Linked DNA regions of Homo sapiens: all the other regions are linked to region 2. The links are contacts of gene promoters, found by promoter capture Hi-C in blood cells and fetal thymus (Javierre and others, 2016). All regions are on one chromosome and are shown on one strand. Each heading gives the region's core, a stretch centred on a gene start or on the middle of the fragment in contact. The rest is flanking DNA. Distances are from core to core; before and after follow the strand shown. Region 1 has its middle 56 kb from the start of LINC00682. Region 2 holds the start of UCHL1 (ubiquitin C-terminal hydrolase L1). Region 3 has its middle 3.8 kb from the start of DCAF4L1.

Evidence for each region. Contacts are between HindIII fragments. The CHiCAGO score rates a contact against its expected background, and 5 or more counts as called.
Region 1: a contact is called between a fragment that was not itself captured here and the fragment with the promoter of UCHL1 in region 2, in 1 of 17 cell types (naive B cells). The highest score is 5.4, in naive B cells.
Region 3: a contact is called between a fragment that was not itself captured here and the fragment with the promoter of UCHL1 in region 2, in 1 of 17 cell types (M0 macrophages). The highest score is 5.1, in M0 macrophages.

What each region holds. Positions count from the first base shown.
Region 1 is chr4:41,824,485-41,829,241 of GRCh38, reverse strand. No RefSeq gene overlaps it. Among named protein-coding and RNA genes, the nearest start is that of LINC00682, 56 kb to the left of the region's middle. The HindIII fragment of the contact is 167 bases long and covers 2,225-2,391 here.
Region 2 is chr4:41,255,307-41,260,241 of GRCh38, reverse strand. It overlaps UCHL1 (ubiquitin C-terminal hydrolase L1), which reads right to left and starts at 3,314. Exons shown (of 9, transcript NM_004181.5): 1 at 3,233-3,314; 2 at 3,116-3,127; 3 at 2,505-2,633. The coding sequence starts at 3,265. It overlaps UCHL1-DT (UCHL1 divergent transcript), which reads left to right and starts at 3,515. Exons shown (of 3, transcript NR_102709.1): 1 at 3,515-3,683. RefSeq lists an enhancer at 2,104-2,604 and a silencer at 2,439-3,198. The HindIII fragment of the contact is 2,127 bases long and covers 1,935-4,061 here.
Region 3 is chr4:41,975,697-41,980,140 of GRCh38, reverse strand. No RefSeq gene overlaps it. Among named protein-coding and RNA genes, the nearest start is that of DCAF4L1, 3.8 kb to the left of the region's middle. The HindIII fragment of the contact is 1,178 bases long and covers 2,493-3,670 here.

The DNA.
Region 1 (4,757 bases), core at 1,059-3,558, 570 kb before region 2:
CAGTTGGAGAATAAGTATCTCAGTCTCAAAGAGGGCATCTGGGCAGGGCACCATATCATCCACTATAATCCTTTGATTGTTGAATGAATGCAAATGTTTTGTAAGCAATGGTAAGGGTCTTAGACTTGATCTTGAAAGCAATGGGATCTCAACACTGGATATTAAGCCCAAGAATGACACAGTCTGATTTGCATATCCAAAAGATCACACTGGCTGCCATGACAATGGATCCAAGAAGGATGTATCTGTGGAGATCCAGTCAAGAAATCAGAAACCACGCCAGTAAGTTTAACAGTGAGAATTTAATATAAGCAGTTGGTTGTACAAGTATTAGATCAAAAAAGAGGCAATAATGATAATTTGAGGGGTCTTCAACAACTTTATGAAAAATGCATATTATGAAAAAACTGTGCCTGGATTTCAAAATATTTTTGCACCAGAAAAATCCATACTCATTTGTTATGTCTGAACAGCATCTAGTTTGAGGCATTAAGAAGGATAAGACATCAGTTTAAAAAAATTCCTTATCAGAGCAACATGAATTCTGCTAAAATTGAAGCAAGAGCAAACATTAAATGTAAGGTGAAGCTTGGGTGGAAAAATGGTGAAATCACGAATGCTTCATAAAAAGTTTATGGGGACAATACACCAAAGATATCAGCCGTTTGAAATGGATAACTTAAAAAATATCCTCCAGATATGAAGGAGGATAACTTTTTTTTTTTTTTTTTTTTTTGAGACAGAGTTTTGCTCTTGTTGCCCAGGCTGGAGTGCAGTGGGGTGATCTCGGCTCACTGCAACCTCCACCTCCCAGGTTCAAGCGATTCTCCTGTCTCAGCCTCCCGAAGAGCTGGGATTACAGGCATGCACCACCACGCCCAGTTAATTTTGTATTTTTTTAGTAGAGATGGGGTTTCTCCATGTTGGTCAGGCTAGTCATGAACTCCCAACCTCAGGTGATCAGCTCGCCTCGGTCTCCAAAAGTGCTGGGATTACAGGCATGAGCCACCTCTCCTGGCCGAGGATAACTTTTTTTTTTTTTGAGACGGAGTCTCACACTGTTGCCTGGGCTGGAGTGCAATGGTGTGATCTCAGGTTACTGCAACCTTTGCCTCCCGGATTCAAGCGATTCTCCTCCCTCAGCCTCCCGAGTAGCTGGGATTACAGGCGCCTGCCACCACGCCCGGCTAATTATTTTATTTTTAGTAGAGATCTGGTTTCACTATGTTGGCAAGGCTGGTCTTGAACTCCTGACCTCATGATCCACCCTCCTCGGCCTCCCAAAGTGCTGGGATTACAGGAGTAAGCCACCATGCCCGGCCGATAACTTTTCTTAAGAAGGGATGAGATGATGTTGAAGATGAAGTCCCTCCCAGCAGACCAGCGACATCCATTTACAAGGAAAAAATTAATCTTGTTTGTGCCCTAATGGAAGAGGACTGATGATTAACAGCAGGAACAATAGCTAACACCATGGACATCTCAATTTGTTCAGCTTACACAATTCTGACTGAAATATTAAAGCTGAGTAAACTTCCCATTCAATGGTTGCCAAAACTAATGCACCCAGATCAGCTGCAGTCAAGAACAGAGCTTTCAATGAAAATTTTAAACAAGTGGGATCAAGATCCTGAAGCATTTCTTTGAAGAATTCTAACAGGAGATGAAACGTGGCCCTACCAGTAAGATACTGAAGACAAAGCACAATCAAAGCAATGGCTACCAAGAGGTGGAAGTGGTCCCATCAGGACAAAAGTGGACTGGTCAAGAGCAAAGGTCATGGCAAGAGTTTTTTGGGAGGCTCAAGGCATTTTGCTTGTTGGCTTTCCGGAGGGCCAAACAACAATTACATCTGCTTATTATGAGAGTGTTTTGAGGAAGTTAGCCAAAGCTTTAGCAGAAAAACACCTGGGAAAGCGTCACCGGAATCCTTCTCCACCATGTCAATCTCTTGCTCATTCCTCTCATCAAACAGAGGCAATTTTTTTGAGAGTTTTGATGGGAAATCATTAGGCATCCTACTTACAGTCCTGATTTGGCTCCTTCTGACTTCTTTTGGTTTCCTAATCTTAAAAAATCTTTAAAGGACACCCATTTTTCTTCAATTAGTAATGTAAAAAAGACTGTACTGACATGGTTAAATTCCCAGGACCCTCAGTTACTTAGGAATGGGCTAAGTAGCTGGTGTCTTGGCTTTGAAAAGTGTCTTGAACTTGATGAAGCTTTTGTTAAGAAAGAAAGTTTATATTTTTTATTTTGATCTTTTAATTACATTTTCCATGAACTATTTGAAGGTCCCTCCTAACAGCATAGTAACTTTGGGAGACAACTACCACTACTAAGGTTGAGGGAACACAGGAAAGAGGTTGGGGTTATAAGAACTTAGAAGCTTGGTGGCCTCGTGGAGCTGGGACTCTAACCCTGAGAACAGACACTCACCATCAAGTTAGTGTTGGTATCTTAAGAGTTCAGAGGAGCCCTGCAGAAGTGGACCTAGATCTCTGAAGACAGGGCATTCCCAGCTAGTGCTAGTACCTCTGAGCTAGTGTAATGAGCCCAGTTCTGGGATGGTGGGGAAAAAATCTGGAAACTGGAACCAATGGTTACTGAAACCCTCACTCCTGGTGGTCCCCTCATCATATGGTCATGCTGGCAGGAGCAGCAAGCAAGCAGCGAGGAGTAAGGCTCTTCCCATCTTCTTCCTTCACGGCTCCCTTTGGAGCCCCCTACTAGTACAACGGCAAAGCAGAAATGCAGTTTGCAGAGCCCTAGCCCTAGCAAACAAATTAGACATAGAAAGTGAGAAACAATAGATTAATAGGGAACCCAAAGACTGAGGATGTAAGTGGAGAGACAAGTTTAGAAAGTTTATTGCAGTAACTTGGGGAAGGTGATTGCTGTAGAGATAAGAGAGGGGAACAGATTCATGACACATTTGAAGTTTAATAGGGCTTTGTGCAGGAGATCACGGGAGGGTGGAGACCAGGGAACAAACTAACTGTATGATGGTGGCATTTACTGATGTGAGGAGCCCTGGAGGAGGAGCAAGTGGGTGGGTAAAGAGTTTTGTGGTCAGATTTGAGCTGATCTTGAAAGACAAAGATTGTTCACACAGGCAGAGGGCAGTGGGGAAGGCATTCCAAGATGGAGGCAAAATCAATCAAATAACAGATTTTTTAAAAAAACCCTGCAGGTTTGTTCAGGGGACAGTGGGTCCATCTGTTTGCCTGGGGAGAAGATGTGAGCAGGAAAGGAGGGAGAAACTACAATGTAACTACTTGAAATTGCAGCTCATTTAGCTGTGAGCCATTAGCATAGTGGGCCTTTAGGACTTGGAATTGACCATTACATATTTTGCTTTGAGATGTGTAAGTGTATGGCTATAACCAGGAGGAGAACAAAATTATATTTTGAGTTATTTCATCCAAAAAGTGTTTTTAAGTTTTCCTAACACCTATTCCTTTGAATTATCTACCACAAATGAAAACATGATACAAACATTTTAGCATTTTAGGAACTTTAAGTTAAGAACATGTTAACTATAAAATGGAGGGTAAGAGGAGAGGATTGAAGTCTAATTCCTGAGTTGTGCTTCATCTCGTTTTGATTAAGACATTGCTTTTTGGGAAAGTCTAAAAATTTGATCTTTAACTTTATGCTAAACTGCTCATTCCTTGTTTTGATCAGTTGATTAGTTGATTAAGAGTCAGACTGCCTGGGTTTGATCCTGACTCTGACACTTATTAGCTGTGTGACCCTGGGCAAATCACTTAACCTCTCTGTGTCTTAAAGTCTTAACTGTGACATGATGATAATAAAAGCACCATTTTCATAAGGTTGTTGTTAGGATTAAGTGAATTAATATATGTAAAGTACTTAGAACACTGCTTGACACAAAGAAACACTATGTTATTATTCAATGTCTTTGACATTTATGCTTAAGAAAACTATTTGCCCCTTTCTCTTCTACACCAGACAGGTATGTGGAAGAAATGAATAATCAGGCTAGATGAAGGAATCAATTCGTTTTCCTTTACAAATCTCTATTTCCTTTACAAAGCTCTATTCCTTTACAAATCTAATGTAGTAGATATTGCTATTGCCTAATACAATATGTATTTTACTTTCCTTAGTATTAGAACGTGAATTCCAGGCTTAGACAAAAGATAACATTTCCAATTCCTTCTTGAAGATAGGTGTGGCTGTATGACTACAATTTAGGTGCCAGCGTAAGTGGAATTGTTGTGGGACCTTCCAGGATGCTGAACAGTAGCTACCTCAGATTAAAGGGTCTCACCTTCTACCTCTCTGCCTTCCTATCTTCAACTTGGATGTGATGGTTGCAGTCCTAAATCATGAGGGTACAAACCACACTCTGAGAATAGCTGCAGAAAGACAAAAGCCTGTGTCTTGGAAGACATCATGGAACTGGAACTGCTGTCTATATCAGCCTCATATTGTTGGCCTCCAGAATTCTTTTACATGAGCGTGAAGTCAACTTTTCCTTGGTTCTCACTGTTATTTTGATTTCTGCTACCTCCAGCCAACCTCTCCTAACAGTGAGTTTCTATATCCATTAATTAATCAATTGATTCATTATTAATTTAGATATTTATTGAGTCCTACCCTATAGGCTCTGAAGAAATAAAGCAGTCCTTAAGACTATTTTCCTGTTCAGGTCACTGGGTCTCATGGCGATGAGTTGTGGCTCCAATAAACTCAAATGAAAAATTACGCATAATGATTGTTTTAAAAGA
Region 2 (4,935 bases), core at 2,065-4,564:
CCCAACAAGAGCACCAGCTGGTTTACATTTCATTATTCTTTAAAGTTCTACTTCTACTCGGCTTAAGTACACTTCGCTTCAAAAACAAAAACGGCCTTAACTGCTGAAAAGAACAAGTGAAAGAAATTAACCATTACCTCCGCCCTCTTTTTAAGGAAAAGACAACTGATCCAGGGTATTGGGCTGTGATTTTACAAGAGGAAGATGTGACACTAGCTTGTCCTTGCCAGCTAAACAGTTTACTTTGAGGACAGACTGGCAATTTGAGGAGGAGGATAGAGACTGGTAAATGAATCGGACTAGGAAACGGATTTCCTCAAAGCATCTGCTAGCTTTCTGTATAGTAATTTAGTAAGCCTATCTGGACTTTTCACTAACTAGCTTTAAAGACCTTAGAAGTTATGATTTCTTGAGCCAGGGTCAGTGGCTTGCACCTATAATCCCAGCTACTAGGGAGGCTGAGGCAGGAGGATCACTTGAGCTCAGAAGTTTGAGACCTTGTCTCTAAAAAATAAAAATATAATAAATAAGTTAGGACTTCCCAGTTAAAGAGTAGGGTACTAACACTATAGAAACACTGATTTCCCATAACGAGCAAAACCAGACAGACCATCAGAAACCTATTTCCAATTCTAGTAGCTTTGCATTTCTGTACATGAACTGAAGTTTAAGCTTGCTCTCTGGTACTAATAGAAGAGTAAGATCTCTTACCCCAGAAGATCAACTTAAACTCCAACTAGCAGAACTTTTTCGCTTCTATCTAACTGGATCCTCAACTTAGTATTCATTGACCAGTAAGTGTTTTTCATTTTCTAGGCTAATTAGATGAAATGTTAAAATGGGATAGCACCATCCTTTAGGGCTGCTTGAGCTCTTCCATGGAAATCATTCTGTAAATAGTCTACTAGCACTTAATGTTTCAGAAGTGGTCCATGTAGGGGGTCATAACATTCCCTTAGTCAAAAATTAAATGCCTTCCAAATTAACATTAGCATCTTTGGAGTCAACCTATAAAACCTCAACTTTTCTTTCAATCGGCTTCAGTGTTTTGTCCAGTAGGCATTCTGTGTAGCAGAATAGGCGCTCGATAAATCTGATAGGTTGAATTGAAACTAAAGGACAAAGTATCGAGCTCTTTCAAACATAACACAAACTAGAATGTTCTCTAAACAAGATTCAGCAAAAGGAGAACAGTCAGCTTTTAAAGGCAAACATGCTGCACCACTGCCTCCCAGAGGCCTTGCCTCTGAATGCTGCTCAAAACCTCCGAGTCATCATGGTTGCTCTAATAAAAAACCTCTGTGTGATGCTCAACTGGAGACAGGAGACTGATTTGGTCAACCAGGAAGCTAATTCGACTTCCAACAATTTGGCATCTTCCTTTTAGCCCAAGTAAAAGACTTTAGCAATAAAAACATGTCAGTGAGATCATCTTATTAGCTGTAAATAAGTGTTTTTACCCACAATACTTAGCTTACTTACTAGGAGGAAGGCTTGGAACTTCCCATACTCTTGATTTTGGCTACAGATGCTTCCAGAACACCTAGCCTTAGGACGGTGCTTCAGTTAACCTCACTCTTTAGAGTGATGCCCCAAGTTTTGCTAAAGCTAATTTCAGTCACTCCCACATCAGCGGTCAAGTGACAGCAATAGGAGATAAGACAATGCCATGCGCTAATGACTGGGATTCCATACATCACAAGACTGCAAATATCCTAGCTATCCTTTAAAAAAAAAAATCTGACGCTGTCTTTCAGATACATCTATCCATGCACACTTGTAGGAGGAAAATCATTTCAAGGGAAATGCAAAGGTGCTTTCAAAACTGAGCTAATAACCCCCTATTTCAGTTAGCTACAAGGTCAGAGATGAACAAGGATAAGTGAAGAGGAAGGAGGTTCCCACACAGAAACCATACACAAAATGATTAAGCTTTAAGAAATACATTCAAGAGGCTAAAAACCAAGTGTGCAAGTGGTGGGAGTGGAGAAGAGAGAAGAACCCCTTAAGACCATCAGAAACCCAAGTAATGGAGGCGGAGAATTAGCGAACCTAATTGTTTCCCTGCGATTTAGGTCAGCCCTTCCCCCTCCATTCTACAGCTAGGTGGGAGTCTGAGAAGCAAACAATGAGTTGACAGGTTATAGCCCTTAAAGGGAAACCAGCAGCCATTCCCCGGAACCGGAGGCTCGAAAAAGCCCAAGTTCGAGGGAACTCATGAGTAGGATGAATGATTTCCCTGGATAACGGGATAGATGGAACTGAGATACTGCCTCTCTTCCAAATTTAAGGCAATTGTGGACGGATGGGCAAGAAGGCGACAGGCACCGCTGGAACAGGAGCCCAGGGAGTAGGTACCACGAAAATGCAGGCTCCTCCCTTCCTTGTAGGCGCGCCCCGCATCACCTACAGGGGAGGGGGCGGGGCGGGGAGCCCCCGAGGACTCAAGCTGGGGAGCGGCGTGCACTGCCGGCGGCCGGCGCATCCTGGGCCCCACGCCCTACCTGGGCCGTGAGGGGAAACAGCAGCAGCAGCGCGCAGGCAGGCGCTGGCACCGAGCCCAGAGACTCCTCTTCCAGCCCCAGCACGTCCACGAAGCGCCACTGGCCGGCGACCCCCAGCCGGGACAGCACCTGCGGAGAGGAGACAAGGCGGCCAGGCGCACGGGGACACGCGGGTCGCGGGCACCTGCCAGGGGGCGGGGCCAGGAGGCGCGCGCCCTCCGCGCCCGCACCCGAGCCTGGGAGGAGCCCCAGTCCCGCCCTGCCACCCCCACCCGGGCCGGCGCAATGACACAGCACAAAGCGCGGCCCACACGTGGCGCCCGCGAAGCCCGTGCAGCCGAGTCTGTGCTGCCCGCGCCACGCCCTCGGGAGCTCCGCCTGGCGCTCGCTCGCCACGGGGCGCAGCCCCCTCCGTCTCCCCGTGACCGGTTTCGTAGAGTCACCCGCTAAATGCAGGGGCCCAGGAAAGGCGCCCAGCCCACGCCCCAGCCCGGCCGTCTCCGGTGCTCGCAGCGGGCGGCTTGGTCCCTGCCAGCAGCCGGAACCGGTGGGCGCCCCCGCCTCGGCGCTCGCGGGGGAGGGGGCCAGAGACGGCGCGAGACGCCACTCACTTTGTTCAGCATCTGAAAGGCAAATGCAAAGAAAAAGGCAAAACCGAACCGATCAGCGACTCGGCTCCCCCTCCCTCGGCCTCGCGCTCTCCGGGTAGCGGTGCACCTGGCGCTCACCTCGGGGTTGATCTCCATCGGCTTGAGCTGCATCTTCGCGGAGCGCCCGGCAGAAATAGCCTAGGGAAGACGAAAAACAGCTAGCGGAGCCGCCCAGGCTGCAGCTATAAAGCGCCGGCCAGACGCACTGTGAGGCCTGTGCAGGGGGAGCAGGGGCAGAACCAAGCGAGGGGGAAACGGACGGTCGCGGCCAGATGGGTACGAACCCCCCGTGCGCAGCGCGGAGTGGTACGGCCGGGCCCCCAAACCTTGCAGTCTCACTCGCCGGTGAGATAATCTGGTGGTTGTGGAGACGGGATTTGTTGGTGGGTGTTCCTTGAGTGTATGGAGCAGTCCTTTTGATGGAGTCTTTAATTTTGGGCGAAGTTTCTGGAAACCCATCCTTTCACCATCCCAATTACTCTAAAGCTCGAGTCTCTGAAGCATTTGAGAAAAAGCACAAATTCAACAGGTATATATTTAATACGAATGAATGTAAATGTGTGCCCCCCGCCCCAAATCTCTCAGCAGTTTGCGTTTAACCTTAGACAATTCCTCCTCCATGTTAAGTCAGACCAGTACCGAGGTTCGTTTTTAAGTGACTACCTAGAATAAAACAGAATCTGGTAGATAACAGATACTGCATTAGGAATGCTGATGTAATGTGACTCCCGCGGAAGAAATGGTTGGTCCTGGGAGAGCAGTAGAAAGCTGGGGGATGTGAGGGTAATACAAGACACAAAGAAGGCAGGCGATTGGAGACTTGAGAAAACAGATCCAGGGAAAAGATGGGTATGATTTTGAGCGAGAGGCTGTAAAAGGAAAAGCATTTTTAAAAGAATGGGAAGCTTTGAAAAATAAAATGTCTGAGTTCACCGCAGAATACTCCCAATGAAGAAGAAAGGGAATGGCAACCAAGGAAACCACTGTTCTCTAATGATCTCAGGTGATCTCTAATGATCTCTAGTCAAAAGATGGAGAGAGAAAGCATTTGCTGAAGAATGAATTTTAAAAGGGACCAAAATCTATAAGAATTGTGCCAGGAAAGCTAAGCTGCAGAACAAAGTGGGCTTGCAGAAATACTTAGGTAGCGAAGGAAGCAAGAAGGTTGAGTATTTTTTAAAAATAGGCACCGAAGAGAATAATGATGATGGTAAAAGAATAGACCTTCTATTTAGGAAGTTGAGGTTAACAGATGACAGAGGGAAGGGAGGGAATCAACATTTTTTGAGTTATTGTTTTTGGGGATCCTTTGCATGTGTCTCTCATTTAATCCTTAGAGGAGCCGTGAAGAGACTCATATTAGTGCAATTTTACAGATCAGAATCCCAGGCCTAGAGAAGTTAATTTGCTTACGGTCACAATTGAAAAGTAAAACTGAGAAGTAAACCCTGCTAAACTGGGCTCCAAGAGCCCATTCTTTATCTAAGATTCCACAACATTCTACTTCTATTTTCTTTCCATTTTTGCCATTAGAAAATGACCTTCACACACAAAAATGAGAGAGAAAAAAATTAGTAAGAGGAGCTTAATGGGTGAATCTTATGGTATGTAAATTTTCCCTCAATAAGGTTGTTAAAGAAAAAAAGAGGTGAAGGTCAAGACAAGTGACTAGGTTATATTGAATGAGTTCTTGCCTTTAGACAAAGACAAATTACATTTCCAATTTACTTCATTTATTCATTCACTCAACAAATATTAAGAACCTACTGTGTGCTGGGTGC
Region 3 (4,444 bases), core at 1,832-4,331, 720 kb before region 2:
CTGGGGAGAGTTGGTAGGGACTACAGAGAAATCCGGTGATATCTGGACTATGGATCCTGTCGGAATCTACAGGCCCCAGAGCTGGGATCACAGAGAGCACAGGAGATTGAGGCCCACACACTTGCCATGGAACATAACATGGGACAAGGGATTTCTATGTATCAGAAGAATGTGTTTCACCACTGCCAAATGGAAGTCAGCTGACAGATGCAGAAGTCTTGCAAAGGGCTATCAAAGCATAGAGGACTGCTTGATACTGAGTTATCAGTGGGGCTGTTAGGAACCCCATATATTCTAACAATGACCTACAGAAAGCAGATAGCAACATGGCGGCAGTCAGACATTTAAGGCATTGCCTGTTTTCCTTCTTAAACCTCCTGACCCCACCATCGGAAGAGCAGGCACATGGAAAAAAAGGGGTGTGTATAAAGAAAGTTGGAACTACGGGTCTAGTCTGCTCTGGAAGGCATGGAGGAAGTTTTTGAAATAAATATGAGACTAATATTTTAAATCAGTAGGACCTAATCTTAATACCTAGAATGAAAGTTTTAATAACTAAGGAGGCTGATACTTTGAAGCAATGAAATCTGACAAAATACCAAGTGTAGAAATGATGAGACTTTCAAGCTTATGCCTCTTGAGGTGAGATTCTCAATCAAACTGATTACACATCTTTGTCTACCCTAGTATACTGTGGACATCTTTAGACAGGGATTGTTTCTTATCCATCTTTCTATCCTTACTGTCTAGTGTATAATATAGTACATGGGACATAGGATATAGATAAGTGAATGAAGGAATGAAAATTATAAGAACTACATGTTTAATTCTCCTTTATTTCATAGGCTCCTTCACTGAGAGGAATAAGGGATTAAGGTTATTTCTGCAAAATCTATCCAACTTCTACTCTACAGGGAGAGCTTTCAATCTATTTCCACTTCTTTTTTTCAATTTTTAATTCCCGTGGATATATAGTAGGTGTATATATTTATGGGGTACACGAGATGTTTTGATACAGGCATGTAATGTGAAATAAGCACATCAGGGTAAATGGGGTATCCATTCCCTTAACCATTTATCCTTTGAGTTACAAACAATCCAATTACACTCTTTAAGTTATTTTAAAACATACAATTAAGTTACTATTGACCATGATCACCCCGTTGTGCTATCAAATAGTAGGTCCTATTCGTTTTTTGTGTTTTGTGTTTTTTTTTGTGTGTGTGTGTGTCTTGCTCTGTTGCTCAGGCTGGAGTGCAGTCGTGCGATCTCGGCTCATTGTAACCTCTGCTTCCTGGGTTCAAGTGATTCTCCTGCCTCAGCCTCCCGAGTAGCTGGGACTACAGGCTCCCGCTACCATGCCAGGCTAATTTTTGTATTTTTAATAGAGATGGGGTTTCACCATATTGGACACACTGGTCTCGAACTCCTGACCTTGTGATCCGCCTGCCTCGGCCTCCCAAAGTGCTGGGATTACAGGCATGAGCCACCACGCCTGGCCAGTCCTATTCATTATTTAACTTTTTTTTTTTTTTAACTCATTTACCATCCCCACCTCCCCCTTCTTTTCTGATTAACTAACTTTCCTTCCCTCTCAATAAACATATAAATCAACCTTCTAGAAAAAATAAGTCTCCTTAAATGCTACATGACTTTTTATCTACTGTCTTAAAAAATTATTTCAGCCTTTAGGATTCTTTCCTTCTCTTTTAGGAATTTACATACTCCATTCCCACCATGCCACTCCATTTCCTTCATCCACCATCTCTTCCCATTTCTCCATAGAAGAAATTGGAAACGTTCCCCATAACTCTCACAACTCTGCCCCTCAGGTCTTACCCCAGCTCAAGGTCCCATACTCACCCTGCCCAACCACATCGTGTGACCTTTGCAGCAGTGGTTCTCATCCTGGGACAACTGTTGGCAATATCTGGAGACATTTTTAGCTGTCACAACTGGATACTACTGGCATCGAGTGGGTTGAGGCTGGAGATGCTGCTAAACATCCTACAACACATAGGGCAGCCTCTTACGACAGAGAATTATACCCCAAAAAACTCCTCTCCTCAGAGTTAAAATTCAGAACTGTGTATAAAAGGCAAGGCTTACCAGCTTCCACCATGTGTGTGTGTGTTTTAAATTCCTAAATCTTCACACATGCCACATGCCTCTTAATACTGACCGTTTTTCCCATCCCCCACCTCTGTTCATGTCTGAAGCCACTTCCTCACTTTAGCATCACTGTTGTGAGTCACAGAGAGAGGAACAAGAGGCAACATTCCTCATCTTTTTACTCCAATATCTATACAAGACGGATAGGGAGGTAAAAAGATAAACAGGGATAGATTCCTACTCTATTCTATTCTGAGCCTCTTGCAAAGTCATATTCCAAATGCTTCAGATAGGCTTCACTGCAGCTTATTTATTCTTACCAATTTCACTATACTTTTTCCCAATATCTCCAACATCCCTTTTCTTGTCTTTGAGAAGCTTCCTGGAAATAACTTTTGTCTGACATGAATCTAAACGTATTATATTTCTGTGACATTTTACACTAATTATTGCTCTTTCTAAAAATACCCAGGCCTTTACTTTTTAGCCAATTTTTTTGTTGTTGTTGTTTCTAAAACAGAAGGTGAACTGGGTCAATTCAGGTATTAATTTTAGCTATGCCATATCAACTTCTGGACACAAGCAGCTAAAGAGAAACTGGAATGGGAAGAAAATTCCATTCCTGCCCTGTTTCCTGGTTAGGAAGGAGCAGACTTTAGAGAAGGAAGGCCAAGCATGGTTTGTAACAGGCTGAAAACATGCCCTTGAAAGCTGAGGCCTCAAGTGTGCCTGTGAAATGGTAAACAAACCCGGTAATGGTAAATGAGCCATGGCTTTGGCTTATTTGCAATAAGGAACAAATCAATTGAAGTATTTCATATTCCTCTCAGAAGAGAACCATAAAGAGCCATGAGACTTCCCAAACAATTGGGATAAATGGGAGAATTTAATAAATAGAATGAAACAAACAGAAGGAAATAAAAAAATGAGCAAAATGCTTTTTAAAAAGCTAAAAACATTTTAGAAAGTGTGAGAATAATAATTACTAAACCCACATGTCTGTAACAAATGAATTGCAATGAAAGGCCAGAGTACAAATAAGAATTATTCATTAACTTGCACTGTAGCATCTGCTACTTGTTATTTCAGCAAATGAATTGTGCAGTAATGACAGTGAATTCTAAACTTGAATATCTAATAATTGAACAGTCATTCCTGCTTCCTACTTGCAAGAAAAAAAAAAGGAACTAAAAGAAAGGAAGAAAAAATAAAAGTTACTTAAAAATATGTTAAACTGATGCCAAGACTGGTCATATAATTCAATATACCATTCGAACTGGGCAGCAGGCTTCCCACTGACCCAGCTGCTGAGTACAGAGGTTTTTATGGTAACAGGTGAGCTCTAACATGGCAGCCCAATATTTTACACCCTTGCTGCATTTTCTGATAATGGACTCACACTCTTATTCCTTTTCCATAAACAAAGCATTCTGTTGCCTGTTCATCCCACTCTCCACCCAAGGAGTACCACATCACAATGGAAACCATTCTCCAGGCAATGGGTTTCAGCTATTAATCACTGGGATGTCAAATGAGAAAATATGTGATTGGTTAAGCTTAGAACAAGGTCAGGAATGAAGAATAATAAATTTGAAAGCAGACATTGTTTAACAATTGCTATGGGAAATGGATTCTGGATTACACATACAATTTTAAAATAACTTCAGGTCTCCTGAGCTAGATTTTTTTTTTAATGATAGCACTCAGTGCCAGTGAAGAGCATTTATATTTTGTGACTGCACAGCATATTTTGAACATACTTCCAATATCTGGGGAATGTCCTACCTGTGAGCCTACCTCCCCAAAGTAGAAGGCTGGAACTTGCTCTCCTGGGCTCCTTTGGAGCAAGGGCCCACGCATGTGACAAACCACCAACCAACCATCAGAACATCTATGAGAAGCTACAATTTGAAATAAAGTAATGGGAAAAGTAAGGCATCTCAAGGAACATATTCTGCAAGGGAAGAGGCGTAAGGCAAAATACAACCAGTGGAGGTGGTAAGGACACACGTCCAGGGGAGTGTCCCAGTAATAGTGGTGACTGTTCCCAATGGAAACTGCATTATTCCTGGTTAGACAGCTTCCAAGCCTGATTCCCTACTCCATCCAGACTTTTAAATACCTAATATCCTTTTAAAAAAAATTCTTCTTCTGTTTAACTAGAGTAAGTTTTGTTTCAAGCATTCAATGTGTATTTATTGAGTGCCTACTACGTTCCAGGAACTGGTTTTTAACAATGAATAAAACAAAAAATGATTCTTGTCCTAATGAAGCTTACACTCTGGTGGGGACACAAATGAGAAACAAAATAAACAAATGTGTGATAATGCTA